Regions from separate parts of the Homo sapiens genome. Here region 1 is linked to region 2. Evidence: promoter capture Hi-C in human tissues and cell types (Jung and others, 2019). All regions are on one chromosome and are shown on one strand. The core of a region is centred on a gene start or on the middle of the fragment in contact, and the rest is flanking DNA. Distances in the headings are between cores, read along the strand shown.

Region 1 (6,676 bases), core at 68-2,567, 120 kb before region 2:
GTTGTTATTTTGTCTCACTTTACATTTTGTCCCCCACTTTCCTCCATATTCATAGACTATTAGACATTCCAGTTTTAAGCATTTTCTAATTCTCTCAATTGCTTTTTCTTCAAAACAGCATAGTTTGCAAGCTCAGGCATGTTTATTGTTTTTAACAAAGGCTTATCGAAATGAACTTGGCAGTTTTTCAGTCGTATACAGCCAAAGAAAAGTATTCAGTGCCGCTTTTGGGGTTGTTTATGCATTCCTCACCTAACCAGTTGCTTTGCTTTTAAAAATTGCCAATTTGGAAGCTATTTTCTTATGAGTACCTTTCCAGTGTATATAAAAAGTCACCCATTGAAATGATATAATAATTTAATTGATGAAAACTAAATACACAGTTGAAGAGGTTGGGGGATTTTGAACAGAAAGATTTTCCCTCTGATAATATTTTTAATGTGCTCTACATCAAAGGACATCAGAAAGTGTCATTATCTAACAATGTCCTGTTTGAAGGTGGTGTCTGTTGAACATTTGGGGAACAGTCACAATTTCTGATGCATGCTAGGCACCTGGAGTAGCTGATTTTTTTTTCTTCATTCACCCACCACTGTGCCCCATCAGATACATATCCTTCCTTCATTTACCGCGCATTGACGAGTAGGGTTAATTGCTGTAGCCAGGTAAGATGTTGCATGAAATTAATTAATTATTTAATTAGTGTGCTCATTCATTTATTAATTTAATGAATATTTATTGAACTTCTACTTCTTATTAAAAGATTTGTATAAGGATTTGTGTGAAGACTGTGTTTTGAGCATCTCTTTTCTGGTGCTGGTGACAGCAGGACGTGTAAAGACACAGAACATGCCTCTGATGCAGCTTACATCCTGGTATGGAAGAGAGGACATTGTATGGCTAGCTATCATACCGATTCAAACTACCATAAGAGATGCATAAGTACTTTGGGAATTAAAAGGAAGAAGAGAGAGCAGGCAGGCACTGTGAAGATTTGAGGGTTAGGGAAGACTTTGTAGAGGAGGGCCCATTGGAGTTGCTTCTTGAAAGATGGTAAAGCACGGTAAAGCTTTTATAGAGGCAGAGGATATACCTATCTTTATGGCAGCACATCCTTGCCTCTTTTTGAAGACACGTAGAGAACTTCCTCTTGGGAACCAGTTGAGGCTGTGTTGGGTCATATAATAGACACTTATCACCTCTCTGCCCCTCTACATGCATGTGACTCTGTTCTGCTTAATGAAATACTGCCCAACACTGAAACAACTCATTGGATTAACCAATGCTCTCCTCCTCTGAACCACATCCTGGTGGTTGCTCAGACACAGAGACCGCTGTGGGAAATAGCTATCATCTTAATAAATTTGTATACTTGGCTGTTACTAGGTCAGGTGCATGCTTACAGCGGTGTTTGGTTACAGTCCAGTTTATGCCAGTTGTACTTTGCTATTGTATTTTTGTTTTTTTCTTTGAGACAGAGCCTTGCTCTGTCACCCAGGCTGGAGTGCAGTGGTGTATTTCGACTCACTGCAACATCCGCCTCCCTGGTTCAAGTAATTTTCCCACCTCAGCCTCCTGAGTAGCTGGGATTACAGGCATCCACCACCATGCCTGGCTAATTTTTGTACTTTTTTTTTTTTTAGTAGAGACAGGATATCACCATGTTGGCAAGGCTGGTCTCGAACTCCTGACCTCAGGTGATCTGCCTGCCTTGGCCTCCCAAAGTGCCAGGATGCTATTGTAATTTTGTGATTTAATGAAATATTGCCTAAACCGATGTAATATGAATGCTAAACAAAGAATGGTATTTCTGTGAAAACTAAGTTGATCGCTATATGGACCCATAAAAGTAAGTAATGTTAAAAAAAATATATCAACACATGCTGCGACATGGATGAACCTTGAAAACATTATGCTAAGTGAAAGAAGCCAGATACAAAGACCACATGTTGTATGATTTATATGAAATGTCCATAATAAGCAAATGCATATGAACAAAAAGTGGATTAGTGATTGCCAGGGAAGTGGGGTAGGGGAAATAGAGAGTGACTGATGATGGATGCAAGGTTCCTTTTTGGGGTGACGGCTATGTTCTGGAATTAGATAATGGGGTGGTGGTTGCACAACATTGTAAATATATGAAAACCACCAGCCGGGCGCCGTGGCTCACACCTGTAATCCCAGCACTTTGGGAGGCCGGGGCGGGCAAATCACAAGGTCGGGAGATCGAGAGCATCCTGGCTAACACGGTGAAACCCCGTCTCTAGTACTAAAGTACAAAAAATTAGCCGGGCGTGGTGGTAGGCGCCTGTAGTCCCAGCTACTCGGGAGGCTGAGGCAGGAGAATGGCATGAACCCAGGAGGCGGAGCTTGCAGTGAGCCAAGATCCCGCCACTGCACTCCAGCCTGGGCAACAGAGCGAGACTCCGTCTCAGAAAAAAAAGAAAAAAAAAAACCACCAAATTTTACATTTTAAAAGTATTAAAATAGTGAAGTTTATGTGAATTTTATCTCAATTTATAAAAGGACTATAAAGCTTTTTAAAAAGCAACATGAACAAGCAAATTACAAAAGGAAGAGGGATGAGTACTTAGGTGTGGCATAGTGATAAGAGATTTGAAGAGTACAGTAAAAATTTCTAGAATGATTTTGCATTCAGGTTTTTTCACAAGCTCCAATAAGGTCCTGATCCTCTTTAAGAAATGGAAGCAGGAAATCTGGATGTGGATTAACCAAGAAAAATAACATAGAACTCCAATCATGACCCAATATCCAAAGATTAGTGAATGAATTTTTTGTTTATGAAAGGAATTGAAACAAAATGTTCAAAATATGTTGTATCAACTTTTTGACTCTGCTTTTCCTGACTTCTGATTACTTTACTGCTGAGAGCTTCTAATGTTTCCATTTCTGAGGGTACCCTGTATATTTTGAAAATAACTCATTTCTGTATCTAGAGAGAAATTCCATGTCTATGAGCCTCTTATAGATATAGCATTAGTCACTTAAGACTGTAAAGGAGGCCGGGTGCAGTGGCTCATGCCTGTAATTCCAGCACTTTGGGAGGTTGAGGCGGGTGGATCACCTGAGGTCAGGAGTTCGAGACTAGCGTGGCCAACATGGCGAAACCCCGTCTCTACTAAAAATACAAAAATTAGCTGGGCGTGGTGGCACGTGCCTGTAATCCCAGCTACTAGGGGGGCTGAGGCAGGAGGATGGCTTGAACCTGGGAGGTGTAGGTTGCAGTGAGCCGAGATTGTGCCACTGCACTCCAGCCTGGGCAACAGAGAGAGACTGTCTCAAAAAAAAAAAAAAAAAAGACTGTAAAGGAAATTGGGACTCAGTTTCCCAACTTCTGAATCACCATAAAAATCAGCAACTGTTTCCCCCTAACACCGTCTTCTGGCTCGGTGGTTCATATATGTAAACAAAGTAGCTACATAAAGTGTTAACTATACCAATACTTAAAAATTATCACCCAAATCATTTGTAGACTATGTTTTTTTCAAAATATTCCTGAGCACAATTAATCATTTTGTGGTTTATTTGACATATTATAAATTAGGGCCATAATTACTTATTTTGGGATTCCACTTTGCTTGATGGAATACTTTCCATGGGAGTGAGTTCATATTTATCTACTGAAACCAGATGTATTTCTTGAAACAGAAATTTCAGCTCTCTGAACCTGTAACTTCAAAGCAACCACATTCATAGCCCCCGAAGGAACCACCAAAAAAATAAAAACTCACGACAAAGTTAAATCTCATAAGGGAGAACAGAATGCTGCTTCTTCAGGCAGTGATAGTTCAACCAGACAACTATCAAAAACCAGCCTTAATCATCATTATTAAATAGTTATGAATAGGGGTAGCCCAAACTCACAGGCATAAATGATATAAAAAATAAATGGTCTGTTCAGGTTGACACCTGACAACCTAGTATCCATAAATCAGTTGATTGAAGACTCTGTATCAATGGTTCTCAACCCCACCTACACATTAGAATCACCTGAGGAAGGAAAAAAACTGGTACCAATGTCCTACTCTGAAAAATTCTGATTCCGTAGGTCTGAGATACAGGGCTAGGGTATTGATAGTTTTTAAATCTCTCTGGTGAATCTCATGTACAGCCAGGGTTGAGAAACTATGGACATATGTAATAATAATTTTGTGCCTCTTTAGAAAAAAATTTTATTGAAACATAAAATTTCATGTGTGGTATATTCTTAACATATAATGGAAATTTTTTGTGTGTGCATTTTCTCTATAGAGGGCCCATTCATTATATGGAAAGCTTTTCCCAATGGTTGAATGAATGTTCAGTGATTTTTTTTCTTCTCTGTGGAATTCACTAGGCTTATGTGTATAAGATGTCAAAACAACCAAATCAACACAATTGATATAATTACTGTCAACCAATGAATTAATTAACCAACTATTTTCAAGTTTTTGATGATTGTGGTACCATATGGGTATTTTTGTTTAGGACAATAATTTGGCCTTTTACTCTACAACAATAATGTGTTTCCTCTAAAATACTTACAGATGTGTCCTTTATTATGTGTTTCTTTAAATTGATTGAGTTGTCAACCTTAATACTCAAACTTTCTCTGAAAACTTTCTGTTTTTATTCAATTGCATCAAATTAAATAAAAAGGGTTATCTTGGGACAGGGTCTCTCTTTGTCACCCAGGCTGGAGTGCAGTGGCCTTATCAGGGCCCACTGCAGCCTCGACCTCCCAGGCTCAAGCAATCCTCCCATCTCAACCTCCCAAGTTGCTAGGACTACAGGCATGAGCCACCATGCCTGGCCAGACTTTTATATAAGAAAGATATTATATAGGACTCTTACGTAAGAAAGATAGGAGTTTAAACCTTGCCCTATGTGACTTCAACAAAGTATGATTAATTTTAGAGCTTTCCTTGTCATTAGGATTTATTGTTTTTGAGAAAATGTGGTGAGGTGACTGATACAGATTCTGAAGATTTATCTAGTAGACTACTCCTACTTAGAATTCACCTCTTTTTTTCTTTTCTCTCTCTCTCTCTCTCTTTTTTTTTTTAAGAGATGGGGTCTCACTGTCACCCAGGCTGGAGTGCAGTGGTGCAATGATGGTTCATTGCAGCCTTGAACTACTAGGCTCAGGCAGTCCTGCTTCAGCCTCCAAAGTAGCTGGAACTACAGGTGGGCACCACCATGCCCAGATAAATAATTTTTTTTTTTTTTGTAGAAATGGAAATGGAGTCTTACTATGTTTTTCCAGGCTGGACTTAAACTCCTGAGCTCAAGCAATCCTCTCTCCTCAGCCTCCCAAAGTGCTGAGATTATAGATGTAAGCTACCATGCCAGCCCCTTATTTTTTTAGTTTTATTATTTTTTTTTTGAGGTGGAGTCTCACTCTTTCACCCAGACTGGAGTGCAATGGCATGATCTCGGCTTGCTGCAACCTCTGCCTCCTGGGTTCAAGCGATTCTCCTGCCTCAGCCTCCTGAGTAGCTGGGATTACAGGCACCTGCCACCACACCCGGCTAATTTTTGTATTTTTAGTAGAGACGGGGTTTCACCACGTTGGTCAGGCTGGTCTCAAACTTCTGACCTCAAGTGATCTGCCCACCTCGGCCTCCCAAAGTGCTGGGATTACAGGCATGAGCCACCACGCCCTACTCAGCCCCTTATTTTTTTTAATTTGTTCTTATTTGGTTTTAATGCTCATGGAGATTCTCACCCACTGTTACCAGTTAGCTTCCCCAAATTACACTTTAACTGTTGATTTTGTAATAAAAATAAATAAATTTTTATCCACGAATAAAAATCTTAATGGATTTTGGCCAGTAGATTTTAAACTGTATTTTGCAAATTCCTGGGAGTATCAGGGAGCACCTCTGGAGCTGTGTTACAGGGCATGAGGGCAATGGGTGGCAGACCGATGTCCAGCTTCCAGCTTTGGGCTCCTTTCTGGTGGCCCCTTCTGCTATCTGAGTAGGTGTTCTGTTCTTGATTTCTTAATGGATTTTGGCCAGTAGATTTTAAACTGTATTTTGCACATTCCTGGGAGTATCAGGGAGCACCTCTGGAGCTGTGTTACAGGGCATGAGGGCAATGGGTGGCGGACCGATGTCCAGCTTCCACCTTTGGGCTCCTTTCTGGTGGCCCCTTCTGCTATCTGAGCAGGTGTCCTGTGCTTGATTTCACATATTTGGTTTCCAAGTAAGATTTTATTTGAACAAAGGATTTCTTGGCCAAAACAAGTTTGTAAGTGATTGGGCCACATGTTTCTAAGTTTCTGCTTCCTGTTCCTTGCCAAATTTGTTTTATATTCTGGCAGCTCCTAATTGTTTCAAGCTACGACTGCGGATCTGTGTTGAAAAGCCTGGGAAATCTTCGGTCTTAATAACTTTATAACTTTGATGCCTGTGGGGAGAGATAACCAAGTAAGCAGTTAGATATTTACAGCAAGAACTATAGCTTGGGAGTTATCAGTATAGGGACTCAGTTCAAGTTATATGTCTCCCCAGGAGAGTGTTTCTAGAGAGGGGTGAGATGGGTCAAAGATCAAATTCTGGGGAATAGCTATGCTGGGCTAAGTGCCGTTCTCTGTATTCACGTTAACCAAATGTGCATTTTGGTTAATGAAGTTTGCATTTCATATTTTAATTTTATAATTCCCCCATGT
Region 2 (6,878 bases), core at 1,716-4,215:
TTCAAGCTGGTCCATGTGATAATACACCCAGGCATAGTTTCCCCAAGTGACCAGGCTTCGTACTTCTTCTTTGTCTGAGTGTTCTTGCTGGATTATTTCTTCTGCTTGTTCCAAGCACTCAAGGGCGTCTTTATTTTGGCCTTTTAGGTGTTTCACATAGGCCAATAGGTTATAAAGAGCAAGTCTAGATTTTGTGGTAAGAAATTCAAGCTGTTGCCCAATTGTATCTTCTACCTCAAACAGATCAATGTCTTCCTTAAGTAAATTCCATGTAAAATGACATTCTAACTCCAACAGAATGGCCTTCAAGGTGTCCTTACGAATTTCACTGTCAAAGATAAAATACTTTTTAATTTTTGAAGAAATACAAGAAATAATTTTCTAAACCTTAAATATTGTTCTTTGCATAACAACTAATTTTATCCCTATTTGATCTTACAGTTAAAACATAAGTTTCCCATAACTTTATACTAGAGTTTCTTCTATATACAGTTATGTCCTAGAAATATTTCATTTAAATTCTCACTATTTATTGCAAAAACAGTTCTGGAGAGATGACAGAGCTTTCTGTATTACATGTATCTATTTCCTTTTGGCAATCACTAAACCATTGAAAATTAGGAATGAATATATACATATTCAATAATTAATATGAAAATTCCATTTTTGTATTATGAGTACTGATCCTGACTAGGAAACCTGGTAAAATTGCTCCTTGGTAATTGTTCCTTTCTCTAGTGTAATTGTACCAAAAATATGGGCAAGACATGCCATGTCCTTACAGCCTGCTTAAATCCACAACAACATGGCTTTACCAGCCCCCTGCCTAAAACAAACACCTGTTTTGAAGGTCTCTACCAGCCCAGCCCAAGGAGGATGAGGAGGGCTGCTCAGGTATTATGGATTTGGTTGTAAGATCTCAAAGGGACATTCAATCAGGTACTGACGTGGTTTGTCCAGGCTCTGGAATTTATGCACAACTGGACACCATGAGAATTTTTATTGTTTAAACTTTGTCTACTTAATTTTGTAACTTTGTCTTTGGGAAGCTAATAAGAGAGAAGCTATTGCATCAGAAGAGGTAACACGTATCTTTCGGTAATTCTGTTCTTCTGCTAGGAAGAAGCAGACTTTCATTGTCCTTGGGAGACAGTCCCCAATGGGGCTGAGCCCTTTTCCTCCCCATCCTGCATATATACGGTGCACGCCACCGTCTTTTTCTGTTTTTTGTTGTTGTTGTTGTTTTGTTGTTGTTGTTGTTGTCAAGCCCCTTCCTGATAGCACTCTCCTTTCTTACAAATGTTAGATGTGGCCAGGCGTTGTGGCTCACGCCTGTAATCCCAGCACTTTGGGAGGCTGAGGCGGGTGGACCACGAGGTCAGGAATTCGAGACCAGCCCGGTCAACATGGTGAAACCCGCGTCTCTACTAAAGATACAAAAAATTAGCCAGGCGTGGTGGCACACGCCTGTAATCCCAGCTACACGGGAAGCTGAGGCAGGGGAATGGCTTGAACCCGGGAGGCGGAGGTTGCAGTGAGCCGAGATGGAGCCATTACACTACAGCCTGGGTGACAGGGCGAGACTCCGTCTCAAAAATAAAGTTAGATGTGTGGGTGGCACTTAAACTTTTTTTTTAAACTTATAATGGGAATAATTAACATTTATTGTGCAAGTATTATGTGCTAAGCAGTCAACTGATAGGATTTATTACTGTCCTTTTCCACAGTCCCAAGAGATGGACACCATTAATTTTTACAAATAAGGAACAGACTCACAGAGTTTGAGAAACTTTGGGATCACTCAACTAGTAGGAGTTCAGTCCGGATTTAGAACAAGGGACTATCTGCTTTTAGAGCCCAAGACCTTAACATCTCATTCCTCAACTCATTAAATGCGGAAGGTTCACTAACCACGTGCAGGGCGGGGTGCTAGCCCCTGGGGATACAAAATGATCAAGAAAAGGACGCCATCATACTAAATCAGTAAAGGAAACAGATAAAGAAATCCTCATAAAACAGCGGATTGGGTGGGACGATAACAATCTGTGCTTGGTACAGAGGTAGCTCCTGGGAAGGGAAGAACTCAGACCCAGAAATCAGAAACGCAAACTGGCAGTGGCAGGCGAACCTGACGCCTGCAGGGCTGCGGCGAAACCGCGTATGCCACACCGAGGGAATGGCAGCTGGAAAGAGAGGCACGCGACAGGCCTAAGGAGACCCGTGGCACGTAGCAGCTGCCCCCGGAACAGCGCCTGGGGGCTCTGCAGGCGCTGACCAGTTTCCCGGAGGCGGCGGCCGCGGACCCAGCACGGTCACCGTCGCCGCTGCCGAGAAGAGCCGTCGGGTCGCGATGGGTGGACAGGCCTTCCGGGGGAGCGTCGCCCGGCACATACCCTGACAGTCCCGACCGCAGACGCCAGGGATGGGACAGGCTCCCGGGGAGCATCTCCTGTTCCTCCTCCCTGACCGGCCTTCTTAGGCGCTGGGGAGGGGCCGGACTCCCGAGAAGCGTCCACTCGGCCACCCTCCCCGGCAGGCCCGACTTCAGACGCCGCGCGCCGGGACAGAGCGCCCGGGGAGGGTCCCCAACGCAGATGCCCGGTTGCTGGGCGCGAGGGGCTCGGCCCCTGAAAAGGCCGCAGAACTGCGCTGGAAATGAATAAAAGCAGCCCGGTTTGAAACCAAGGCCGACGCAGGGCTTGGGAGGAGAGGCAAAGGAAAACCCTTACCTCATGATGGCAGCGCTCTGCAGGCCGTCCGGGCGGCGCAGTCCCTCGGATCGCTCTCTCCTCAGCACCGGGGACCGCGGGAAGCCGCGCGGTGGGCGTGCGCGTGCGCGTGCGCGCGCCAGGCCTCTGCAGCCCCTGGACTCGGCCGCGCGGCGTGTCTTTGTTAAAGGAGAGACCCCAGCCCCAGCAAGAACAGGAAACTGGAGATTGAATCAGATGCCGAGCGCTCAGAAACTGAAACTTAAGAAATCGAAACTAAACGTAAGCTTCAGAAACCGAAACTTAATAGAAGAGCTCAAGAGCCGCGGCCAGACGTTTGCGGAGTCCAGGGTCTTTCGGAGTTGAATTTGCAGCTGGGCTCCTTCACTTTGGTCTCGGCTTTTATCTGCCTCCCTGAGTACGCTGAGTTCGCATGCTGCCCGTGTAACTGTTTGTTTGTTTGTTTGTTTGTTTGAGATAGCGTCTCACTGTGTCACCCAGTCGTGATCTCAAGGGATGCGCCCGCCTCTGCCTCCCAAGGTGCTGGGATTACAGGCGGAAACTTAAGTCCCTGCTTCCACTCCAGTCTTTTGATTCAACAAGCAACACTGCAATGCTATACATCTATGCTGTTATTTCTGTTGGGTGTAAACTGAGAAATTTGGAGCTAAAATCTATATACATTTTAAGTTTTGACGGATATTGCCAAATAGCTTTAAAAATCCACTCTTACCCACAATTGTAGGAGACTGCTTCTCTTCCATACCTTCGCCAATGGTGCTTTGTAATAAGGACCCAATAAAGACAAGAGTGGTATTGGGGATCTAGGCAGAAAATGTCAAACACCCATACCTTAAACATTTTGTCCCCTTTGAATTCATTCAGCAAATATTGACAAACAACTGTAAGAGCCAGACTTTGTTCAAAGTACTGTCAATATAACAATAAAGAAAACAGACACGGGCCTTACCCTTATTGAGTTAATGTCTGTATTCAAAACCTCAATATCCTGTCCATAATTCATCTTTTGCATTGATTTTGGTTTTTTTTTTTTTTTTGAGACAGGGTCTCACTCTGTCACTCAGGTTGGAGTGCAGTGGTGAGATGACAGCTCACTGCAGCCTCAACCTTCATGGCTCAAGCGATCCTCCCACCTCAGCCTCCTGAGTGGCTGGGACTATATGCGTGCACCACTATGTCGGGCTAATTAATTTATTTTTTGTAGAGGCGGGGTTTTGCCATGTTGCCCAGGCTGGTCTCCAACACCTGGGCACAAATATTTTTCTAAACCTTAAATATTGTTCCGCCCATCGTGGCCTCCCAAAATGCTGGGATTACAGGCATGAGCCACTATGCTTGGCCTGATTTTGAATTTTTAAAAACATATTGCATTGAAATATTGTCTACCTTGATCACTGAGCTTCTGGCACCCCACCCCTCAAAACTTAGTGCCTGAAGCGAGTGCCTCATTTAAAGCAATCACTTCTAACAGTTGTACTGTCTTATACAGAAACTGCTGGTCACCTGTGGCTATTAAGAACCTGATTTTTAATTTAATATAAATTTAAAAACTGATAAGTTAATAGAAAACTTACATTTGGAATAACTTAGGTATACGAATCTGCTTTTTATAAGTTGCAAATTTTATGAACTCTAAATACAGAGCAAGTATTTCCAGTGATTATCCTCAGCAAACTAATGCAGGAACAGAAACCAAACACTGCATGTTCTCACTTGTAAGTGGGAGCTAAATGATGAGAACACACGGACACAGTGGGGAACAACACACACTGGGGCTTGTTGGAGTTGGGGGTGGTGGGAGGGAGAGCATCAAGAAGTATAGCTAAGTGATGCTGAGCTTAATACGTAGGTGATGGTGTGTCCGGAATTGGTTCCTTCCAGTAGGTTTTTGGTCTTGGTGACTTCAAGAATGAAGCTGCGGACTCTCGCTGTGAGTGCTACAGTTGTTAAAGATGGCGTGTCTGGAGTTTGTTCCTTTCGATGTTCAGATGTGTCTGGAGTTTCTTCCTTCTGGTGAGTTCGTGGTCTTGCTGACTTCAGGAGTGCAGCTGCAGACCTTCACAGTGAGTGTTACAGATCTTAAAGGTGGCGCGTCCGGAGTTGTTCGTTCCTCCCGGTGGGTTCGTGGTTTCACTGACTTCAGGAGTAAAGCCGTAGACCTTTGTGGTGAGTGTTACAGCTCATAAAGGCAGTGTGGACCCAAAGAGTGAGCAGCAGCAAGATTCGTTGCGAAGAGCGAAAGAACAAAACTTCCACGACGTGGAAGCAGACCCGAGCAGGTTGCCGCTGCTGGCTGGGGTGGCCTGCTTTTATTCCCTTATTTGGCTCCACCCATATCCTGCTGATTGGTCCATTTTACAGAGAGCTGATTGGTCCACTTTACAAAGTGCTGATTGGTCCATTTTACAGAGTGCTGATTGGTCCATTTTACAGAGTGCTGATTGGTCCATTTTGACAGAGTGCTGATTGGTGCGTTTACAAACTTTTAGCTACACACAGAGTGCTGATTGGTGCGTTTACAATCCTTTAGCTAGACAGAAAAGTTCTCTGAGTCCCCACCTGACCCAGAAGCCCAGCCAGCTTCACCTCTCAATCCCCCCTCTAAACAGGACACCCCAATTGCTGATGGGAATTTGGCTGATGACTGCTCTAGCTACTTTCTGCTGGATAGGGGCGAAGAAGGGGCCCTGTAGGTGTAGTGTCCTCCAGAGGGGAACTCTTTAGGCCAGTGGAAGGGCCAGCAGGTCAGTCCAGGGGTCCTCGGTAGAAGTTGTTAGTTGAACTCATTTGGGGTTCCATTTGTAAGACCATCTGTAGCTTGAGGGCCTCAATTCTAGAGGAAACAAATTTGACAAGAAGGTTAAAAACACAGGGCCCAAAGACAAGTAACAGCAAGATGGCTGCCACAGGACCTAGAAAGGGGAGAAGCCATGTTGCCCAACTCCAGAGGTTGGTATAAGAGTTTGAAAGGTGTTGTCTGATTTCAGAAGCCTTTTCCTGTAAACACCGGGTGGCATCTCGTGCTATCCCTGACTGGTTAGTGTAAAAACAACACTCTTCCCCTAAGAAGCTGCACAGTCCTCCTTTCTCAGCAGTGAGGAGGTCTAGGCCTTGGCGATTTTGGAGAGTCGCTGCTGCCAAAGAGTCTGTTTGGGATTGTAGAGTAAGGATAGATTTCATTATTTCATGCAAACTGTCTGAGAAATCCTTTGAGAGTGTATGGTAGTAGGATAATGCATGTTACACTGTTAACTTTTAGCAAACTTTACGTTAGTTGAAAACCTTGTAAGTTTGGGATTTCAATTATTCTTTGCTATTAGTAAGACCTCGTTCAGTCCATATTAACTTAGAATTGGTATAGATGGCTCCTTCCTGATTCTGTAAGTATTTTAAGGTTTGGCTGAGTGCAAACAGCTGACACATTTGAGCAGACCAATTATTAGGCAATTTTCCTAACACTGCTTCTACAAGAGTTTCCTTATTATTTACTGAATACCCATTGTGTTTTTTTTTTCCTTAATTGCCCAGGAGGAACCATCTATCCGTCCTGTCCTGAAGGGAGTTCCTCCTAGATCTGGTCAGACCTTTGTATGGGAATTAATTAAGATTTAGATCCCCTGTTAGGAAACCTGCTGGGTAAGGATTTTTGATAGGAAGGCTACTGGTTGTCAGTGGCCTCAGTGCTTTCAGGCTACGCCCTTGTTTACACTGACAGCAAGGTGGTATTGGAGTGTTATAGGGTTTCTGAGAAGACCTTCAGTTATCAATTATAGGTTTTAAATTTACCCTGGCTTTTAAAGGAATAGGGTACACTGTTTTTTCTTTACTACTTCTATCTCTCTCTTTGACTTCTTCGTCTCTCTCTTCCTCTCTCTGTCTCTCTCTCTCTGACTTTCTGTCTCTTTCTTGCTTTCCTTTCTGCTGGTGTTTCCCTGCCTCTGCCAGTGGCTTATGCTGCTGTTCTTCCCTCTCCTTCACCTTTTGATGGCTTCAGCAGTGTAAGACTGCCACCTCCTTGGGTTTTTGCACCGCGTGCAATAACTCCGTGGTTTCCCTGTGTTATTTAATGGGGGTTCCCCCAGAGGTTAGGAACTCCCTTTCTTTCCATATTGCAGCATGGGCATGTAGGATTAGATAAGCATGGTTGCT

The links. The method cuts DNA at HindIII sites, captures the fragments that hold promoters and counts their contacts. A contact is called where the count stands out against the background at its distance.
Region 1: a contact is called between a fragment that was not itself captured here and the fragment with the promoter of IFIT5 in region 2, in 3 of the 25 tissues and cell types used here (aorta, hippocampus and spleen).

Annotation. Positions count from the first base shown.
Region 1 is chr10:89,526,193-89,532,868 of GRCh38, reverse strand. The region is part of intron 2 of SLC16A12 (solute carrier family 16 member 12); the gene reads left to right. Among named protein-coding and RNA genes, the nearest start is that of SLC16A12, 6.1 kb to the left of the region's middle. The HindIII fragment of the contact is 4,199 bases long and covers 1-3,416 here.
Region 2 is chr10:89,410,655-89,417,532 of GRCh38, reverse strand. IFIT5 (interferon induced protein with tetratricopeptide repeats 5) reads right to left here and starts at 2,965. Exons shown (of 2, transcript NM_012420.3): 1 at 2,730-2,965; 2 at 1-328. The coding sequence starts at 2,734. It also overlaps a transcript of LIPA not described here. RefSeq lists enhancers at 1,919-1,988, 2,089-2,188, 2,799-3,108. The HindIII fragment of the contact is 7,296 bases long and covers 1-6,069 here.